Linked DNA regions of Homo sapiens: all the other regions are linked to region 3. Evidence: promoter capture Hi-C in 16 types of primary human blood cells and fetal thymus (Javierre and others, 2016). All regions are on one chromosome and are shown on one strand. Each heading gives the region's core, a stretch centred on a gene start or on the middle of the fragment in contact. The rest is flanking DNA. Distances are from core to core; before and after follow the strand shown. Region 1 has its middle 30 kb from the start of EMB. Region 2 has its middle 60 kb from the start of EMB. Region 3 holds the start of PARP8 (poly(ADP-ribose) polymerase family member 8). Region 4 has its middle 100 kb from the start of LINC02106. Region 5 has its middle 120 kb from the start of LINC02106. Region 6 has its middle 11 kb from the start of EMB. Region 7 has its middle 83 kb from the start of LINC02106.

The links. The method cuts DNA at HindIII sites, captures the fragments that hold promoters and counts their contacts. A CHiCAGO score of 5 or more calls a contact.
Region 1: a fragment that was not itself captured here is called in contact with the fragment with the promoter of PARP8 in region 3 in 2 of 17 cell types (non-activated CD4 T cells and naive B cells); the score reaches 7.2 in non-activated CD4 T cells.
Region 2: a fragment that was not itself captured here is called in contact with the fragment with the promoter of PARP8 in region 3 in 2 of 17 cell types (neutrophils and total CD4 T cells); the score reaches 6.3 in neutrophils.
Region 4: a fragment that was not itself captured here is called in contact with the fragment with the promoter of PARP8 in region 3 in 1 of 17 cell types (M0 macrophages); the score reaches 7.2 in M0 macrophages.
Region 5: a contact is called between a fragment that was not itself captured here and the fragment with the promoter of PARP8 in region 3, in 2 of 17 cell types (neutrophils and monocytes). The highest score is 5.6, in neutrophils.
Region 6: a contact is called between a fragment that was not itself captured here and the fragment with the promoter of PARP8 in region 3, in 9 of 17 cell types (naive CD4 T cells, non-activated CD4 T cells, total B cells and 6 more). The highest score is 11.0, in naive CD4 T cells.
Region 7: a contact is called between a fragment that was not itself captured here and the fragment with the promoter of PARP8 in region 3, in 1 of 17 cell types (M0 macrophages). The highest score is 5.0, in M0 macrophages.

The regions. Positions count from the first base shown.
Region 1 is chr5:50,469,459-50,472,503 of GRCh38, forward strand. No RefSeq gene overlaps it. Among named protein-coding and RNA genes, the nearest start is that of EMB, 30 kb to the left of the region's middle. The HindIII fragment of the contact is 1,076 bases long and covers 1,184-2,259 here.
Region 2 is chr5:50,499,469-50,502,450 of GRCh38, forward strand. No RefSeq gene overlaps it. Among named protein-coding and RNA genes, the nearest start is that of EMB, 60 kb to the left of the region's middle. The HindIII fragment of the contact is 5,250 bases long and covers 1-2,982 here.
Region 3 is chr5:50,665,046-50,668,105 of GRCh38, forward strand. PARP8 (poly(ADP-ribose) polymerase family member 8) reads left to right here and starts at 1,592. Exons shown (of 26, transcript NM_024615.4): 1 at 1,592-2,141; 2 at 3,026-3,060. The coding sequence starts at 2,051. RefSeq lists silencers at 1,435-1,584, 1,635-1,694, 2,387-2,716 and enhancers at 1,867-2,779, 2,215-3,060. The HindIII fragment of the contact is 4,109 bases long and covers 1-3,060 here.
Region 4 is chr5:50,868,050-50,870,868 of GRCh38, forward strand. No RefSeq gene overlaps it. Among named protein-coding and RNA genes, the nearest start is that of LINC02106, 100 kb to the right of the region's middle. The HindIII fragment of the contact is 4,885 bases long and covers 1-2,819 here.
Region 5 is chr5:50,848,535-50,851,234 of GRCh38, forward strand. No RefSeq gene overlaps it. Among named protein-coding and RNA genes, the nearest start is that of LINC02106, 120 kb to the right of the region's middle. The HindIII fragment of the contact is 5,806 bases long and covers 1-2,700 here.
Region 6 is chr5:50,450,596-50,453,444 of GRCh38, forward strand. No RefSeq gene overlaps it. Among named protein-coding and RNA genes, the nearest start is that of EMB, 11 kb to the left of the region's middle. The HindIII fragment of the contact is 531 bases long and covers 1,032-1,562 here.
Region 7 is chr5:50,885,844-50,888,550 of GRCh38, forward strand. No RefSeq gene overlaps it. Among named protein-coding and RNA genes, the nearest start is that of LINC02106, 83 kb to the right of the region's middle. The HindIII fragment of the contact is 3,553 bases long and covers 1-2,707 here.

The sequences.
Region 1 (3,045 bases), core at 472-2,971, 200 kb before region 3:
TCTTGTAGGGCAGGCCTGGTGGTGACAAAAATCCCTCAGCATTTGCTTGTCTGTAAAGTATTTTATTTCTCCTTCACTTATGAAGCTTAGTTTGGCTGGATATGAAATCCTGGGTTGAAAATTCTTTTCTTTAAGAATGTTGAATGTTGGCCCCCACTCTCTTCTGGCTTGTAGAGTTTCTCCCATGAGATCCATTGTTAGTCTGATGGGCTTCCCTTTGTGGGTAACCGGACCTTTCTCTCTGGCTGCCCTTAACATTTTTTCCTTCATTTCAACTTTGGTGAATCTGTCAATTATGTGTCTTGGAGTTGCTCTTCTTGAGGAGTGTCTTTGTGGCATTCTCTGTATTTCCTGAATTTGAATGTTGGCCTGCCTTGCTAGGTTGGGGAAGTTCTCCTAGATAATATCCTGAAGAGTGTTTTCCAGCTTGGTTCCATTCTCCCCATCACGTTCAGGTACACCAATCAGACGAAGATTTGGTCTTTTCACATAGTCTTATATTTCTTGGAGGCTTTGTTCACTTCTTTTTACTCTTTTATCTCAGAACTTCTCTTCTCACTTCATTTCATTCATTTGATCTTCAATCACTGATACCCTTTCTTCCAGTTCATCGAATCAGCTACTGAAGCTTGTGCATTCATCACGTAGTTCTCTTGCCATGGTTTTCAGCTGCATCAGGTCGTTTAAGGACTTATCTACACTGGTTATTCTAATTCGCCATCCATCTAATCTTTTTTAATGTTTTTAACTTCTTTGCATTGGGTTCAAACTTCCTCCTTTAGCTCAGAGAAGTTTCATCATCTGAAGACTTCTTCTCTCATCTCATCAAAGTCATTCTCCATCCAGCTTTGTTCCATTACTGGAGAGGAGCTGCATTCCTTTGGAGGGGGAAATGTGCTCTGATTTTTAGAATTTTCAGCTTTTCTGCTCTGTTTTTTCCCCACCTTTGTGGTTTTATCTACCTTTGTTCTTTGATGATGGTGATGTACAGATGGGGTTTTGGTGTGGATGTCCTTTCTGTTTGTCAGTTTTCCTTCTAACAGTCAGAACACTCAGCTGCAGGTCTGTTGGAGTTTGCTGGATGTCCACTCCAGACCGTGTTTGCCTGGGTATCAGCAGTGGAGGCTGCAGAACAGAGAATATTGCTGAACTGCAAATGTTGCTGCCTGATCTTTCCTCTGGAAGCTTCATCTCAGAGGGGTACCTGGTTGTGTGAGGTGGCAGTCTGCCCCTACTAGGGGGTGCCTCCCAGTTAGGCTACTTGGGGGTCCGGGTGCCACTTGAGGAGGCAGTCTGTCTGTTCTCAGATCTCCAGCTGCATGCTGGGAGAACCACTACTCTCTTCAAAACTGTCAGATAGGGACCTTTACGTCTGCGGAAGTTTCTGCTGCCTTTTGTACAGCTATGCCCTGTCCTCAGAGGTGGATTCTACAGAGGCATGCAGGCCTCCTTGAGCTGTGGTGGGCTTTATTTACCTACTCAAGCCTCAGCAATGGCGGGTGCCCCTCCCCCAGCCTCACTGCCACCTTGCAGTTTGATCTCAGACTGCTGTGCTAGCAATGAGTGAGGCTCCATGGGAATGGGACCCTCCAAGCCAGGCGGGGGATATAATCTCCTGGTGTGCCACTTGCTAAGACCATTGGAAAAGTGCAGGGAGTGACCCAATTTTCCAGGTGCCGTCTGTCACCCCCTCCCTTGGCTAGGAAAGGGAATTCCCTGACCCCTTGCACTTCCCGGGTGAGGCAATGCCTCATGCTGCTTCAGCTCACACTTGATGGGCTGCACCCACTGTCCCGCCCCCACTGCCAATGAACTCCAGTGAGATGAACCCCTGTACCTCAGTTGGGAATGCAGAAATCACCTGTCTTCTGCATCACTCATGCTGGGGGCTAGATGTAGACTAGAGCTGTTCCTATTCTACCATCTTGGAACTGCCTCCCATATGTGCCCATTCCAATTTTCACAGCCCAACTCTCTCTCAGTAAATACATTTCCTTTCACATAAGAGAACTACAGAGTATTCAAATTCAACTCTGTATAATGCAAAAACTCCAAAGTTAAATCTTTTAGTTTGATTATTAGTTACTTTAAGTTTTGAAGCTGCAAATGACAAAATATTATTCAGCATTAGATGGAAACTTTTGTTTTTCTAACACTGACTTTAGCCAAGATTTCAGAACTTTACATGATCATACTCTTCTTTAGGCTCTCCAGCACAGTTGGAAATAAGCAGACAATCTCACAGTCCTTGAATTCTCAAGCTTAGCAAGTTCCACCCTTAGCAGCACTTGAAATCTAAGGCCTTCCCATCAATGACACTTCATTCTAAATGATATTTGAATTAGTTGCCTGGTCATTACATGCTTTCAAATGCCATTAGCTGTATCATCCTGGCCTTTCTCTTTGATGAAGAAGTTCCACTATGCCCCTAGAATAATCCCACATTTAATTTTGTGGATGTCCTTCTTCTTTCACTACCTACATACTACCATGTCACTTGTGACTGTTAATAGCAAAGAAGACAATCCATTCTGGCAAGTTTAGCCAGACAAGAAAACAAATCATCATATGGGCTAGAGAAGAAAATAATTCTACATAGCCAAGATCAACATTGTAAAACTACATTTAAAAAAACAAACAAACAAAAAACTGACCTAAAGAGTATATTACCACTGTAGCCATTGCGTCCACCAAGCATAAGATGCCAGGAATCCAAAAATATTAAAATTATCGACCAGGTGCATTGTCTCATGCCTGTAATCCCAGCACGTTGGGAGGCTGAGGTGGGAGGATCATGAGGTCAAGAGATCAATACCATCCTGGCCAACATGGTGAAACCCCATCTCTACTAAAAATACAAAAATTAGCTGGGCGTGGTAGCACATGACTGTAGTCCCAGCTACTCGGGAGGCTGAGGCAGGAGAATTGCTTGAACCTGGGAGGCCAAAAAAAGAAAAAAATAAAAATAAAAATAAAAATAAATTATCCTACAGAAAGCACCAAGCCTTTTTGTATCAGGAAGTGAACCTTGAAATCACTGCAACT
Region 2 (2,982 bases), core at 279-2,778, 170 kb before region 3:
TGGGGAAAGGATTCCCTATTTAATAAATGGTGCTGGGAAAACTGGCTGGCTATATGTAGAAAGCTAAAACTGGATCCCTTCCTTACACCTTATACAAAGATTGATTCAAGATGGATTAAAGACTTAAACATTAGACCTAAAACCATAAAAACCCTAGAAGAAAACCTAGGCATTACCATTCAGGACATTGGCATGGGCAAGGACTTCATGTCTAAAACACCAAAAGCAATGGCAACAAAAGCCAAAATTGACAAATGGGATCTAATTAAACTAAAGAGCTTCTTCACAAAAAAGAAACTACCATCAGAGTGAACAGGCAGCCTACAGAATGGGAGAAAATTTTTGCTATCTACTCATCTGACAAAGGGCTAATATCCAGAATCTTCAATGAACTCAAACAAATTTACAAGAAAAAAACAAACCCATAAAAAAGTGGGCGAAGGATATGAACAGACACTACTCAAAAGAAGACATTTATTGCCACCAAAAGACACATGAAAAAATGTTCATCATCACTGGCCATCAGAGAAATGCAAATCAAGACCACAATGAGATACCATCTCACATCAGTTAGAATGGTGATCGTTAAAAATCAGGAAACAACAGGTGCTGGAGAGGATGTGGAGAAATAGGAACACGTTTACACTGTTGGTGGGACTGTAAACTAGTTCAACCTTTGTGGAAGTCAGTGTGGCGATTCCTCAGGGATCTAGAACTAGAAATACCATTTGACCCAGCCATCCCATTACTGGGTATATACCCAAAGGATTATAAATCATGCTGCCATAAAGACACATGCACACGTATGTTTATTGCGGCACTATTCACAATAGCAAAGACTTGGAACCAACCCAAATGTCCATCAATGATAGACTGGATTAAGAAAATGTGGCCCATATACACCATGGAATACTATGCAGCCATAAAAAATGATGAGTTCATGTCCTTTGTAGGGACATGGATGAAGCTGGAAACCATCATTCTCAGCAAACTATCGCAAGGACAAAAAACCACACACCACATGTTCTCACTCATAGGTGGGAATTGAACAATGAGAACACATGGACACAGGAAGGGGAACATCACACACCGGGGCTGTTGTGGGGTGGGGGGAAGGGGGAGGGATAGCAGTAGGAGATATACCTAATTTTAAATGACGAGTTAATGGGTGCAGCTCACCAACATGGCACATGTATACATATGTAACTAACCTGCACGTTGTGCACATGTACCCTAAAACTTAAAATATAATTTAAAAAAGAAAAAAAATTTAAATTAACTACTAAAGACTTACTTTGTATTTTTTATATAAAAATACATCCAAATGCAAATTCTATTTTTTTTCTTGCCCTGTAGACAACATTCTGGAACATCCCCTGAAATACATACAAATCACTTTGGAAGCCACTGATTTAGAGAATGGAATAACGTTATTTGAAAGTGACAAATGATGACTAATAGTTCACATGTGTTGATTCCCAAGAGATGCATTCTTTCATCCAGCATTTATTAATATAGATTATTTGGAACATTAATATTTAAAAGATTATAATGCATAAGTAATAAACATGCATTGAATTTCTATATTTATTAGATATTATTCAAAAGATTTCAAAGAAAGATATTAAAGTTACTCATGTATAGAGTTAAATATGTCGCTGGACGATTCATATCATATATTTGAGAGTGAGCACTAAAACACAGAGACATTTTGGGTATACACACTGGCACACATACACAAACATATGCATACATACATCCATTTACTTATTCAACTTTTTCTCTAAAACTGAAAATGAATACTTTTGGAAGGCTAATTTAAATTTTTCTCAGGTTGGCAGAACTAAAATTTGTCTTTTGCTTATGATTACTATATATGCTATCTATAAGTTTTTTGCAGAATCTTTATTTTTAGTAAATAAAACATTTCTTTAAAGAATGTTTTAATTTCAGTAAGAATGAAACAATAAAACTTTAGAAAACGTAAAAAATGTGATATTAAAAGTTAAACATTTTTACTTTAAAGTATTACCAGAAGTAGCTCCATAAATATATAGCAAAAAAATTCTTAATTAGCCCTTATCTCATCTTAGAAGCTAAAGTATTTTGCAACTTCTAGAGTAATTTCAAATAACTGATTTTACCCATTGAAGGCCTTACACTACTTATGTTTCCTATTTCAACAGTCATTTATCTTTGAAGTGGCATAGTTTGAAATGAGATATTACTCCTTGAGGAAATTCTAGACTTCTGCCTTTCAGTTTCACTTCTCTAAATAACTCAAGTTTGTAGATGGGAAGATAGGCAACATCTTTTATATACAAAGGAAGAGAAAGAGAAAAGCAGAAGAGAAGATGGACTCTTGATAATCTGTTACTAAATAAGCTCTTTAGTTGAATTTGCTTTATTCCATAATTTACACTATTCTTTTCACTTTCTACACAATTTCATGAGCATTAGTACCTGACTGGATTAGCCTCTCTGCACTCACAATTATTGTTTACTTGAAAGAAACAGCCACGTTTTTCTCTGTAGTTTAAATTTCCCAAGGTTGCAAATACAGCCTGGCTCTTACACTGTGGAAGTGTGTGTGTGTGTGTGTGTGCTCAAGCGTGTGTGTGTGCTCAAGCATGTGTGTGTCATATATGCAATTACTGATTATTCCCTATTAGGTAGGCTCTGCACTTTATATATCTAATACTAAATTTAAGGGAAGTAAATGCAAAACTATTTTATCAAAATTACAATATTTAACTTTCAATATTACATATATCCATCAAATAGCTATACTGCTACATTCTGCATTGTATATAAATGTATTTGGAATACAAAATGGTATTTTCCCTATATTCCCATCTAATGGGGAATTTCATCAGCATTATATTAAAATAATCACATACTACTGCACATCAGGTTTTAGGATTATTTGTAGTTATCTATTTTCTACCTTTTACTGGACTAAATTATAATTGGTCTCTAAAA
Region 3 (3,060 bases), core at 342-2,841:
AGGGTTCTACTTGGAAGATGCAAGCCTTGTGGCTAGATAACTATAAAATAAATTCTTGTGAGTTAATAGACTTTCAGCCTTTCAGAGAAATTAAAGCACATAATGGAAGAAGAAATACTCATGATTCTCAGTGGTGATGTGGAAGAGAAGAGAGCATTTTTGGCAGCCAAAGGGCCTACACAAAGCAACATATCCAGGAAGGACAAAGGGCTTGAACCTGTCCTACCCTAAACAGGAAGCATTTCAGGAGAGGACTGAGCAGGAGATATAGACTGTTGTGACTGTGGCTTTACTACATCAAAGGCTGCAGTGGATCTCAATAATGCAGAATGTTTCCTTTTGTAACTCATAGTGAATATGACTGGACAAGGAAATTATTTTGTAATTTGTTTCCTGAAAGATAAAGGAGTTAGAACATAGGATCTTTCATTGATTCTACAGAATCTTAAGACTCCTTCAGGGATGGCAGTCATTCCTACCGTGCTGAACATCATGTTGTCACGGTCAGAATCAGAACTAAATTGATTAAGGGTCTGAAACAGTTTGGCAACTCTTGGGCACTTATGCTGATAAGAAAAGTGATGAGACAGGGTAATGAAAAGAGGCTGCAAGAAATGACCATTCGTGCATTCAGCCAACATTTAGGCCACCCTCCTGTATTCCAGGCACTGTACATGGCACTGAGTATGCAAAGCAAAAGGAGTCATGGTCTACTGGCGGGAGCCTTCTCAGTGGAGAAAAGATCAACAAGAAAAGTGCCTGCTGGAGACCTCTCCTAGGGCATAAACCAATATAGAGGTGGGGCAGCTACGTCAGCCTGGGGTGTCCTTAGGCAGAACAGAAAGTGAGAATCAGAGCAGTATCTCATTTCTGAACACCTGGATTGTAGCTTTCCCTTGACTGTCAAAGGAGGTGGTTTTAAAAATCAAGCCAAACAGGTTTCCATCTTTTAGGAAGACCCTGGAACGTGCCAGTTGATTCTGACCATTTCTCATGAACAGAAACACCTAGGAAGGGAGAACTGGTGAGTTTCAAGAGGAGGAAGTCCCTCAAAAGGGGCTGTGTTTCGTAAACGGCGCCCCAAAAGGGCTGAACTACTTCGATCTGGAGGAAAAAGACTCAGGCACTGAGGGAAGGGGAGGGTGCACGTCTGGAGTAATTTTAAGGCCTTTTCCGTGTTATGTGATGTGGCAATAAGGAAAGATTTGTTCGTTTTATTATTTTTTTAATTTTTAAAGATTTTCTTTTCCCCCCTTTTCCCCCTCCCAGCCACTCCGGTTTGGGTTTGCCACAAGACTATAATTCCTTTAGAAAGTGGAGTCGAATTCATAAAAGTGATGGGGGGAGGGGCGCGGAGAGGGAAGGCTGGGAGCCCCAGGGAGTCTTCACGACCGCTCAGCTCCCGGCGCGAGTGGAGGTCGGTGTGGGGAGAAGCGGCTCCCGCCCGGGATGGCTAATACTCTGCGAGCCCCGGCAGCCCGCGGCCGGCGGGGTGACTAGGCGGCGGGCGCGGAGGGTCTGCGGCGGGCGGGCGGCGCTGCAGCAGCCTGGGCACGGCTGCCGCCGCCCGCGGGCGCGAGTGTGCGCGGGTGTGGAAGGCCGGCGTGCGAGCCGTGAGGGGTGTGCGCGCGTGAGCCGGAGCGGGGCTCGCCCCTCGCCGGCGCCCGCCGCCCAGCCGGTGATTGCTCTCTGGCTGTCCCCGGCACCTCGGCCCCCACGGCCGTTGGTCCGGGCGGGTGAGGGAGAAAGTGAGACTTGGTGTCATCACCATCCATTGTCAGAAGGGGAGGAAATTGGAATCCAGCAGCGGCGAGCAGCAGCTGGGCGGTCACATCTGGGAATGCAAAGCCGACCTCCCCCTCCTCCTCCTCCTCCCCCTCCTCCTCCTCCTCTTCTCTCACCCAGGATCACTTCCGAAACCACTTCGCCTTCAGCCCCTGCCTCGGCCAGAGGTTTCATTTTTAACTGAATATTTACGAAAGCTGGAAGCGTGCGAGGGGGGTGGGGTGGGGTGGAAATAGCGGCTGCTTCTTTTCCAGGGATTTATTTAATGGGGATGTGTTCAAGGCAAGAGCGAATTCAGAAGGATATCGACGTCGTGATCCAGAAGTCCAGAGCTGAGAAGGACTGCCTGTTTGCAGGTGAGTTCTTGCTTTTCCAGAACCTCGGACCCAGCGCCCCCTTCCCAGTTTTCTGACCGCGACGTCTGTGGCTGGGGGTGGGGTGGAGGGTTGCACGTCCCCATTCTGGGGTTCATTTGGCAACAGCTGCTGCAACGAGCGCGGGAGCCAAAAGGGGGAGGGGGCGCCAGCCTCTCCCCTTCCCCTCCCCCACCGCCAAGTCTGAGGCAGCCACCAGCTTTGAGGGCAGAGCCCGCGTGGCCGGAGCGGGGGTCTAGGCGAAGGGGCAGTGCGTGGTATTTCCAGCCCCGCGTAGTGCCCGAAGCCTCCAAGCACGCTTCCTGGGTTCCAGCAGCGGCGGCAGAGCGGGGTTGGTTTGCGCAATGGGCTGAGCGGCGGCGGCCGGGAATGGAGCCTGCTGCGCTGCGCTGCGCTTGTAAGCTGCGCCCGGCGCCGAGGACCCCCGGGGGGCAGCGCTCGGCCCATCTCCGGCCCCTTCGGCTCCCTCTAGTCCCCTCCGACTGGCAAAGAGAAGGGATTCCTCGGATTCCCAAGGCACCCAGCGCCCCTGCCTGGGGGTCGCCTTTCGTCCATTTTGCTCCCCCGGGATTTTGCTTTCGCTACCGCGAGCCCGGCTGAGGCTGCTTCCGGCCTCCCCTATCGGGAAATTCCCGCTGTTGCCATGGCACCCGGCACTTGTTGCGGGGGGCGGCCTCCCGCTGCACCCAGTCGGGGGCGCGCCGCATCCCCTCGGACGCGGCGCAGAGGGACCTCGCCGCCCTCTAGCCCTTGCCTTCTGCCCGGCCAGGCCTCCCCTGACACCACCGAATGTGGGGCTCAAGTCCTGATCGGGGTTAAAACAAATCCACTCCAGGGGTAGCTTTTGACGGGACTTTCTGTTTCAGATTTCAGATACTCTGACTCCACCTTTACTTTTACC
Region 4 (2,819 bases), core at 262-2,761, 200 kb after region 3:
ACTTTGAAGTGGTAGAACACGACTGAGTAACAAATTCAGGAGCATGTCAGAGGAGGTTTCTTTTCTCCACTGGAGTTTATGAAACGTTCGCTTTGCTGTTGAGATTGGGAATGAAAAAAAAAAAAACCTGTAAGATCTAAACAAACTATTGAAGTAGAGGAATCAAAGCAATAAAATATTGCAATCAAGCAGTTTTTTTATTTTTACTTTAAGGAGTCTTTCATGTATAGCATTTCAGTTTTCTTTTCCTCGACTCAATAAAATATTTAGACAAGATGTTCTCTCCATTTGACAACTTAAAAAACTGAGGCCTACAGATGTGGAACAACCCATGTCGATTCACTAGCGATAAAGAGACAGCCATAATGCAAGGATTTTGACTCATCACCTGGGTTCCTTGTTTTACATTCAGGAGAGTGGATTTCTTTCCAGTTCTAGGAAGCGGTCTAGGAATATATTTTTACAAAAGGAAGTATTTCCTGGAGAAACAATTCTCTTAGGTAGACCATGTCTGTTTTCATTTCTGGCCCACTTTTCATCTTCTTCCCCAGGAATCTAGCTCTCTCCTCCCTCTCTTTTCTTGTATAAGCATTTTATATATTTCATGTGAAATAAGTTTCAAGTAAGCTATAATTACCATTTTCATGAGAGAAAGTCTATCCATTTTCACTTCCATTTTATAGTTTTGATTATACTTTGAAAAGCTCTAGCATTTTCAAATATTTATAGTTTTAAAATATAAAGAAAAATGCATGATCCTACTGTCATAGGTTTACCACGGAAGGAGGCAAAACAGGGACATTCTATGCTGATTTCAATTCCAGGTAAATTATTTTTTGAATTCAATTTCTCTGGAATTAGGAAAGCTACCATTTAAATGCCTAGCTTTTGAGACCCTTTTAAAACCCGTCACGATTTTGTTAAAAACAAGATCATAAGGTTTAAAAATATTCAATGAAAAATGATTTACAAAGATTTTAAGAGATTTTTCTCATCAGTCACAGTGATGCCTCTTTCAAGATGTGCTTTCTAATCCAGTTCTGTCCAAATTTATGACCTACTCTACAGTTTGATTTTCCTATCATTTAATGAGTGCTCAGTTTTTTCACTTGAATCATGAAAACAAGAAAACGTGAAAGATAAACAGCACTATGGAATTCAGAATCCACACTGTTTGCTGTTCCACAGAAACTAGAATGAGTTCGTCGTGTCCTGCATTTATTGGTGACCTTAATGAAATCACTTGATGAAAGTCATGCTACCGCAGTCAGTTATTTTGAGGGGTATTTTGGGAGTTTTTTGTTTGTTTCTTTGGACCAGTTCTATAGTGAACTAAATTAGTTAATTAATGTCAGCTCCTTCTTCTCTAATTTACATATAACCCATTTTTGTATGCTTATCTGGGAACAATTCATTATTGACTTAGCTTGGAACAGATATAATGTACTCATCTTAGTCATCAGAAATATGCCCTACTTGGAGAAATTTTCCATTTACTTTATTTCTCAAATCCACAGACCACTTTGAAAAGTCCTTATCTACAAACAACAGCGGGGAGCAGCTTCACACTCTAAGAATTCATCACAAGCCCCTGGAGAATTTGACATATCCTTATGCATCTAACTTCTCTGCCTGAAGTAAATTTCAGCATCAACCCTTACTTGGTGAAATGAAATTCACCCGACCATTTATTTGCATAGTTTGGAGATTATAACAACACTGATGGCTCTATTTTGAAAGGAAAAAATATGGTCTCAATTGCTGATCAGACACAAAACAAAACAAAACTACTTCAAATTTTGCAAATTCTTACAAGGGTCTAGATTTGGAATGGAAATGAATTACTGCTTCCCTTTTACAGCTTTATCTTGATTTCCCAGTTTTATTTTCTCTTTTCACTCTTCCTCTCCTTCACAGAATTCCTACCTTCCTTTGGCCAATCTGCTGCTATATGTCAGGCATCACCCTTTCTTTCCACATTGCTCCTCTTCTTCATTGTTCTAAGGAAATGCAATCTAGAGAATGAAAAGATGAGGTGTATCCAACTGAATATTCCATCAATTGAAAAGGTCACAAGAAAAATGTTTCTTGCTTTAGAGAAGTAGAGTTTTAAATAAGACTTTTGCTTTCCTATGTTTTTGGTGAAATCCTCACTAGGTAGCAACGATGGATGTTGTCCAGTGGGGTCTCATTTTTCTCTCCATATAAACACTGGGATGTTAAATCTGGGATGTAGCAGGAGTGGTGTTATCACAGGAACCTGGAAGAGCTTTTCCCTTTGTCCTAGTATGAAGTAACACTCTTCTGTATCCCAGAGGTCACCGTGTATTCAGTGCTACTGTTCTGATTTGTTTTGATTTATGTAATAATAATAATATTTTGGAGTGAAGTAACTCAAGTGGAAGCCATTGACAACACATCAGCTTATTGGCTTCTATATTTGGAAAGAATCATTCACTCTTAATCAGAGGAAGAAGCTAGATTGAAAGTAGATATCAGCTAAGTTTGGTGTTATATAAGTCAGGGCTTTACAGAGAAACAGAATCAATAAGGTGCATGTGTGTGTGTGTGTGTGTGTGTGTGTGTAGAGAGAGAGAGAGAGATTGATTTCTTTTAAGAAATTGGCTCACATGAATGTGAGGGCTGGCAAGTGCAAAACGTACAAGGCAGGCTGGCAGGCTGGAGATCTCAAGAAGAACTGATATTGTAGTCGTGAGTCCAAAGACAGACTGAGGCAGAAATCCTTCTCTCTTCAAAGGACCTCTTAAGGCCTTCAATTGATTGGAGGGCAATCTGCTTTACTCAAAGTCTACTGATGT
Region 5 (2,700 bases), core at 192-2,691, 180 kb after region 3:
TAGGTATCTCTTGTAGTAATTCTGACAGGAATGAAGACTTAAGAGAAGAAGGACTGAGAAAAAGGATGGATATAAGAAACAGTAAGAGAATATTTAGGAAAAAGAAGTAGGAAACGAGATCCAATTTATAATATAAATTGAGAATAATTTCCCTCTTGATTTTTTATTGGAGATCGATTAAGATTCTCCCATAGCATTTAGTATTCCGAGAAGGACTGACTGAAGACAAATGACTTGGCTATGCTGGCTCTACACTAAGAAGCCTGTGAGCACATATTCAGCCATGTGAAGGGAAAGAAGAGAGAAGGAGTATTCTGAATCACATGGAGACATGTTTGAGAACAAATCTCCCCTACACCTGTAAAACCAGGCTTACTAAATACTGAGATCTGTAAGAGAATGGTTGCAGTAGTGCAGTAAATCTCCTTTCTGTTTTAATGTGATTTATTATTTCCAAGATCTATCGTGTGTGTGTGTGTGTGTGTGTGTGTGTGTGTGTGAGAGAGAGAGAGAGAGAGAGAGAGAGAGAGGCATTTTAGCCTGGGGAACACTTAGGACTCACCACCCAGAATGGTGGCATCCTATTCTTTACACTCAACTTGAAAGACACAACCCACTGTGAATGGCTCCAACTCTGACCTGTAGTCTGATGAGTCTGATGACTCTTAAATCTGCAGCTCTTCTTTGATCTTTCCCTTGAGCTTCAAAATTACATGATCAAATACCTCCAAACAAACATCTCTTCCTGAATGTTCCCGGGACACCTCAAACAAACTCTAACAAATGTCCCCACCCCCCACCATTCTACTCCTCTTCTTGCACTGTTATCAACGAACCAAAGAATGGCCACACCTTCCACCTGTTTGCCCAAGTGAGAAGAGAAATTATCCCCTATCCCCTTCCCTTTCACCCAGTCCCATCCTCCAATCAATAGCTAAGCCTTGTTAATTTTTCTTGTTGAGTGTCTTGATGATGTGTTCAACAACCTCGTTCTCTCCTGTGACTTCCTTTGCTAACATTCATGTAGGTTATAGCAGTATCCTTGACTTAATCCAGTACCCTTTACCGGGAACAAATTCAGCTAGCACATAGTACACTTACGATTGGTAAAATACTGAATGCCTCTGTATGTTAGTAAATAGACATCCAGCCCCATATTGCCCAGATGCAGCAACAAAAATGTTAGCTTAACACACAGAGGACGGACCTTCCTCCTGTACTTTGCCCCCTGCTAAATAGGCTATGACTGGCTCTACCTCCTTCCTGACCCTTTGCCCTCTCTTAATGCTGAAGCTAAAGTGATCTTACTGAAATGAAAATCCAATTTTGTAATTCCTTTGTTTAAAATCCCTTCAATATCTCCCAGTTTCTCACTCAGTAAAAATTTCTCATCAAACCTTTCACACATGACCCTTCATGGTCAAGCCCCTGCTTCCCTCTCATCCCTCTCCAGCCTCATTTTCCACCACCACCTTACACTCAGCATTGCAACCCCACTGAATTCTTGGCAGTTCCAAGAACAGCCCATTGCTTCCCACCTCTCACTTGCTTTTTCTTTCTGCCCCAGTCACCATTTCCAATTTATACTTCTTTTGACTCTCAACTTATTCCCAGTCTAAACCAAATGGTCCTTCTAGATCTTTTCCAAGTATCTGGCCATAGTTCATCTATTTCACTTAGCACACAGTGTTGAAAATGTTTATTGATTTGCCTGCTTTTTCCCCCCAACCCGGCTACCCTTCCTCCATACCACCATGCACAGATTATTTCCAGTACCGACTAAATGTTTGGGACTTAAGTGGGTGTACACATACACAATATTACAAATGTCTATCTGAGAAAAACAGTCTTCAAATAAAGTGGCATTAAAGCTGAAAATCTTAGATATGTCTTCTATTGGTACATACTAGATTCATACATCTAAATAAATACCCATGGTGGGGACATGTCAAGCCAAGGCTATCACTGTTCTGATCACCATCATCACTATCATCCTGGGCATCATTTCCAGCTCTATCACCTGCAGGAAAATGTAGGAACCTCATAATGTTGGCAACATCTACACTCTCTCTTACTCTTGAAGTATATATTTGCATTTTAACTTTAGAGCAAGCAATACCTGGATTGGAAGGTCGCTTTGAGGGCCCAGAATGAAACATAAAACTAGATACTTACAAATTTATAACTTAATGTCAGTAATTTGCATAACCAAAGGATCATTGCTTTGCTAAATAATTACCTTAAATAATGAGCTTCCCTAACATACTTGAGTTCATTTACAGGTCATTAACTACTTGACATACAAGAAAGAGAGCTACTTTAAGCTATAGTACTAATATTCATTACTAGTAATAATAAATCAGTGATGGAATTAAGCACATCTGTAACTATAAGTCAATGGGAAAATACAGTTTCTTCCAAGGGAATTGCATTCTTCTAACATAGTATAAATTGTAACTAACTTGAATTTTATTACACATTTTTCTCTGTCAACCTCTAACTTAATTTTTGCTGCCCTGAAATTGGGAACATTTCTATTCTTTATGTGTTTCCTGGTTAACTTCTGGGATACATATTTCTTAATAGTTGTAGGCTTACAGCATAGTCAATTTTCTAGTTCTAATAACAGCAGCTCAGGAGTGGAATAGTTTTCTGTAGTGTATTATTTGGATTCTTTTTCTTTGAGTTGCTGCCTGTTGC
Region 6 (2,849 bases), core at 47-2,546, 210 kb before region 3:
AACAAGCCCTAACAGGTGATTGGCCTGCTCCATTTTCTGTCCTGTCTGAACCACCAAGGTTTGTCTGAGGGCCATGACTAAGGCTGTGGCCTTTCTCTGATCTCACTTTTCCTTTTCAGCCTGTTCCTCTTGGTCCCTATTATAGAACACTAAGGTTGCCAGGTTTAATAATGCCTCCAGATTTTGTTCAGGGCTCAGAGCTCGCTTTTGGAGCTTTCTCCTGATATCTGCGGCTGATTGGGTAATAAACTTATCTTTTAGGGTCAATTGACCCTCGAGGGAGTCAGGTGACAGGGGAGTATATTTTCTTAGGGTCTCCTGTAGCCACTCAAGGAAAGCAGGATTTTCTTCCTTTCCCTGAGTTATGGTGGACTTCATTGAATAATTCATGGGCTTTTTTCTAATTCTCCTTAGTCCTTCTAGAACACAGATCAACAGATGTTTGTGACTCCAGTCCCAATGATGTGAGTCTAGGTCCCAGTGGGGATCCATACTGGGGATGGCTTGCTGACTGGTAGGGAATTTGTCCCTTTCTTCGTCTGTCACTCTATCATTTACTTGACTAAGATACCAGGTATCTTCAAACTCTCAGGCTGCAGCTAAAGCCGCATTCTTTTCATTAAAGGCCAGGGTTTGATCTAATAGCATGACATCTCTCCAGGTGGGATTGAATGTTTGCCCTAGACCCTGTAGGACATCTATATACCTATCAGGATCATCTGAAAACTTCCCCAGGTCTGCCTTGATCTGCTTTAAATCAGAGAGGGAGAAGAGGACATGTACCCAGGTTGGGCCAAATTCCCCACTCCCTACAGCTTAAAGAGGACATAACTGATAGCCTGGGGGTTTTTGTGGTCACTTGGAGATTTCTTTCCTTGTTTCCTTCTGGGCAGGGATATTAGAGGAGGCTTATCATTAATAGGAAGGGGAGCTATAGGGAAGCTAGGATATGGGGGTAAGCTGACAGGTCCTCTTGTGGGATATAAATTAGAAGATTTGCATAGTTGTGGATTCTCCTTCAATGAAAAGAAAGCTTGGATATAAGATATTTCACTCCATTTGCCTTCCCTTTTACAGAAAAGGTCAAGCTGCAGGATAGTATTGTAATTTGTACTTCCCTCAGGTGGCCATTTTTCCCCATCAGAGAGATGATATTGGGGCCAGGCCATATTGCCAAAAAAAATGAGCCACCTCTTTTTCAGGGTTTGCTGGTCAAATTGGTCCCAATGGCTTAGGATGCATTGCAAGGGTGGGCCTGTTGGTGTCTGAGTGTTTCCCATCACTTGGTGAAAGTCCCATCTGGGTCGGCAAGGTGTGTCCTGAGTTTATTCCTTCTAGTGGGTTCTTGGTCTCGCTGACTTCAAGAATGAAGCCGCGGACCTCACAGTGAGTGTCACAGCTCTTAAAGGTGGTGTATCCAGAGTTATTCCTTCTGGTGGGTTCGTGTTCATGCTGACTTCAGGAATGAAGCCACAGACCCTTACAGTGAGTGTTACAGCTCATACAGGTAGTGCGGACACAGTGAGCAGCAGCAAGATTTATTATGAAGAGCAAAAGAACAAAGCTTGCACAGCATGGAAGGGAACTTGAGTGGGTTGCCACTGCTGGCTCGGGTGGCCAGCTTTTATTCCCTTATTTGGCCCTACCCATATCCTGCTGATTGGTCCATTTTACAGAGTGCTGATTGATCCATTTTTAGAGAATACTGATTGGTGCATTTACAATCCTCTAGCTAGACAGAAAAGTTCTCCAAATCCCCACCCATCCCAGAAGCCCAGCTGGCTTCACCTCTCAAGTTTATTCATGAACGTAATTTTACCAACATGTTTTATACCATAATTTTGTTTTTGAACATTAACCATTTTTACTTTCAGAAGGAAGAATTCCCCTTAGCATTTCTTGTAAGATGAATCAGGTAGTGGTGAATTCTCTCAGGTTTTCTTTGCCTGGAAAACATTTTATATCATCTTCATAATAAGTTTGCTAGATACACTATTCTTGAATGACAGCTTTGTTTGTTTTTAACTTTTATTTCACGTTTGAGAATACATGTGAAACTCTTGTCATCAGAGTTTGTTGTACAGATTATTTCATCACTCAGGTATGAAGCCTAGTACCCAATAGTTATTTTTTCTGCCCCTTTCCCTCCTCCCACCCTCCACACTCCAATAGGCCCCAGAGTCTGTTGTTATCTTCTTTGTGTTCATGAGTTCTCATAATTTAGCTCCCACATATAAGTGAGAACAAGCAATATTTTGTTTTCTGTTCCTGTGTTAGTTTACTAAGGATAGTAGCTTCCAGCTCCATCCATCTTCCCACAAAAGACATGATCTCATTGTTTTTATGGCTGCATAGTATCCCATGGTATACATGTAGCACAATTTCTTTTTTTTTATTTATTATTATTATACTTTAAGTTTTAGGGTACATGTGCGCAATGTGCAGGTTAGTTACATATGTATACATGTGCCATGCTGGTGCACTGCACCCACTAACTGGTCATCTAGCATTAGGTATATCTCCCAGTGCTATCCCTCCCCATCCCCCCACCACACAACCATCCCCAGAGTGTGATGTTCCCCTTCCTGTGTCCATGTGTTCTCATTGTTCAATTCCCACCTATGAGTGAGAATATGCAGTGTTTGGTTTTTTGTTCTTGCAATAGGTTACTGAGAATGACGATTTCCAATTTCATCCATGTGCCTACAAAGGACATGAACTCATCATTTTTTATGGCTGCCTAGTATTCCATGGTGTATATGGGCCACATTTTCTTAATCCAGTCTATCATTGTTGGACATTTGGGTTGGTTCTAAGTCTTTGCTATTGTGAATAATGCCACAATAAAC
Region 7 (2,707 bases), core at 37-2,536, 220 kb after region 3:
CAGTCTTTGCAAATCTTACTGTTTAGATGATGTCTTAAACTCATTTTTCTAGAAGTGCTACTAAAATACATATTACTTGTGGCAAAATGTTGGATACTAACAATATTACTACTCCTTCAGGTCCTGGTGGGGGATGAAAGGATTTGGTGAAATCCTACATTCACCAAATACCTAGTGAGCATTAATTATGTATCAGCACCATGCTGAGATTAGGTGGTAACAGAAAAGATGCTGTTCCTGTCCCAAGGATCTTACATCTGTGTAGGAGAGAGGGATATTAAAAACAAACAAAAAACCCAACTACCAAATAACTGTTATGTCACAACAATTTTGCTAAGTGTCATGGAGGAAAACTATAGTGTATCAGAGGGTATATTAAGTGGAATCTAATCTGAATTTGGCAGTAAAATGTGTCCTCTATGGAAGTGGCATGACCTCAGACTGAAAAGGTGAGGAAGAATTAGCCAGGTAGAAATGAGATGAGACCATTGCCCAATGAGAAAAGAGCCCCTGTAGGGTACTGGGGTGGGAAGGAGCATGGGGACTGGGGTAACAGAAAGAAGCTGTCTGGACAGAACAGGGTGATCTACAAAGGGAGTAATGGGGATGAGGCTGCACAGACTAGCAGCCAGTGGCTGGATCATGGAGGTCTTTTAGGCCATGACATAATTTTGATTTTAATCCTAAAAGTGAGGTGACACACATGCCTAATTTTAACGGATGCTATAATCATACTGAGGTTTTTTTAAAAAGATAAATCCCAAGAAGAAATGTTTTGGGGTGATGTAAAAAGTCAACTAGATGCATTCTTTAACAAAAGAGGGATTCATAAGAGAGAAAGTTGGGGCAATATGAATATCTGACTTCCCCCAATAAACATGTCTACCAGAGCTGGCCTTTACAGTGGCCCACTCTCAGGTTCATTCCTGCTGTAAAGTTCCCAAGCAAATTCCCGCTGTAAAGTTCCAAGTTCCTGCTGTAAACTTCCTGCTGTAAACTTCCCAAGGTAAGGAAGACTCCTGCTGAGGCAGCAGACTGCTGCAGTTTACCCAGCCAGACTCTCTCTGACTCTCATGGAGAGAAGAGTGTGACAAGGGGCAGGTAGAAAGAATGATTGTGACTTGGTCCTCTCCCCTTCATGAAGCTGGACAAGCAGCAGTTACCCTCTTGCCCACTAGTAAAGAAATAGAACTGATTATTCTATAGATGGTATCTTTTTTTTTTCCTCAGTATCACACTAATCAACTCCCTGTGGCTGTGATGATGAGAGATGCTAAATTGCTGAAACGGCAGGCTTTCAGAGGAGATAAAATTGAGCACCTGCTCTTAGGTCCATAAATAACTGAGGGTTATTTTCCCTGGGGACTCTGATGCTGGTCCTAACATTCCCACCAAATGTTAATGTAGTCATTACACTGTGTCTGATTGAATTATCATTGTAATTTCAGGAGAAAACTTTGGTTTGGCCAGAGCAAAAAATATACTTTAAGAAGCACTAGTTTATACCTGAATTAGGTTTTGTGGCTGAACATCTGTGAATTCACAAAATCCAGAAAAAAAAATCTGGCTTTAGTTGTTCACCGTTTTTTGTACTCAAATATGCCTAACCTAAAATCTGCTTTGTTGTTGTCAAACGAGCATGGGTCCATAATTATTATCAATTTTATCTTATTCATAATAAAATAAGCATTATTGAAAAATAAGCATTATTGAAAAATAAGCATGTCTAAAACTATCCTAACAGTCAATCCTCTTCCACCTGATAGCTTTTTAAGAATTGACCTTGCCCATCTACTTTTCTAGTGAAATAATTGCATCATCACTTCTTTGCTAGGTAACATAGGACATATTTGGCGATTCTGTCTGCACATGGAAGGACTTTCTCTTCTATAGCTATGAAGTATTCTCTCTTCTGGTGGCCTTTGACGTAAGTATTATAAATCTACCAATTATCAGAAGTGTGTAATGTTGCCCAGTTTCCAAATCTTCCTTAAATGCTTGTCCACAGAAATATTTGAACAATTGAATAACACTCTACTTTTCATGAAGACATTCCAGAATCATAAAGACAAGCCCTAGGCTCTTTGATATTATTCTTTACTTGAAAGTGACCTTACTGTAATAGGCTGATGCCTAGCACCTAGCAGTTATTATCTAGAGTTCCTAAGAGCTTTTCCCAATATCTTTCTTTCATCCTTCATTTCCGCTTCGCTTGAGATTTCCCAGCCTCACTATCACTCTCACCACCTCTCATCTGCCATGTGGAAAAAATACTTCATTGGCGTTCCTACTTCCCTGCTCAATCACATGCAAAGTTCACCATGAATCATAGTTGTTAATGGTTCCCCTCTGCCTTTTGTACTTGTTTCAAATTCTGCAACTCAGCCTTCAAAGCCCCTAATTAACTGGCTCCCATTGAACCATCTTCCACAGTGCCTCAAAAGAACTCTTATTCTTTCATCAGTCTGATTTTCCCATTGCATCTGCCCCTCACACTCCCAACACATACATATAACTCATATTCATTCCAACTGCATGAATTAATGAATAATATGTCCCTCCATGCAATGTTCTCTTTCCCTTAGTTTCACTACTTCAAATAAAAACTCACTGCATATATTTAATGTGTATTTGGACATATGTATACACATGGATACCATCACCATAATCAAGGCAATAAGCACATCTGTCACTTCCAAAGTTTCCT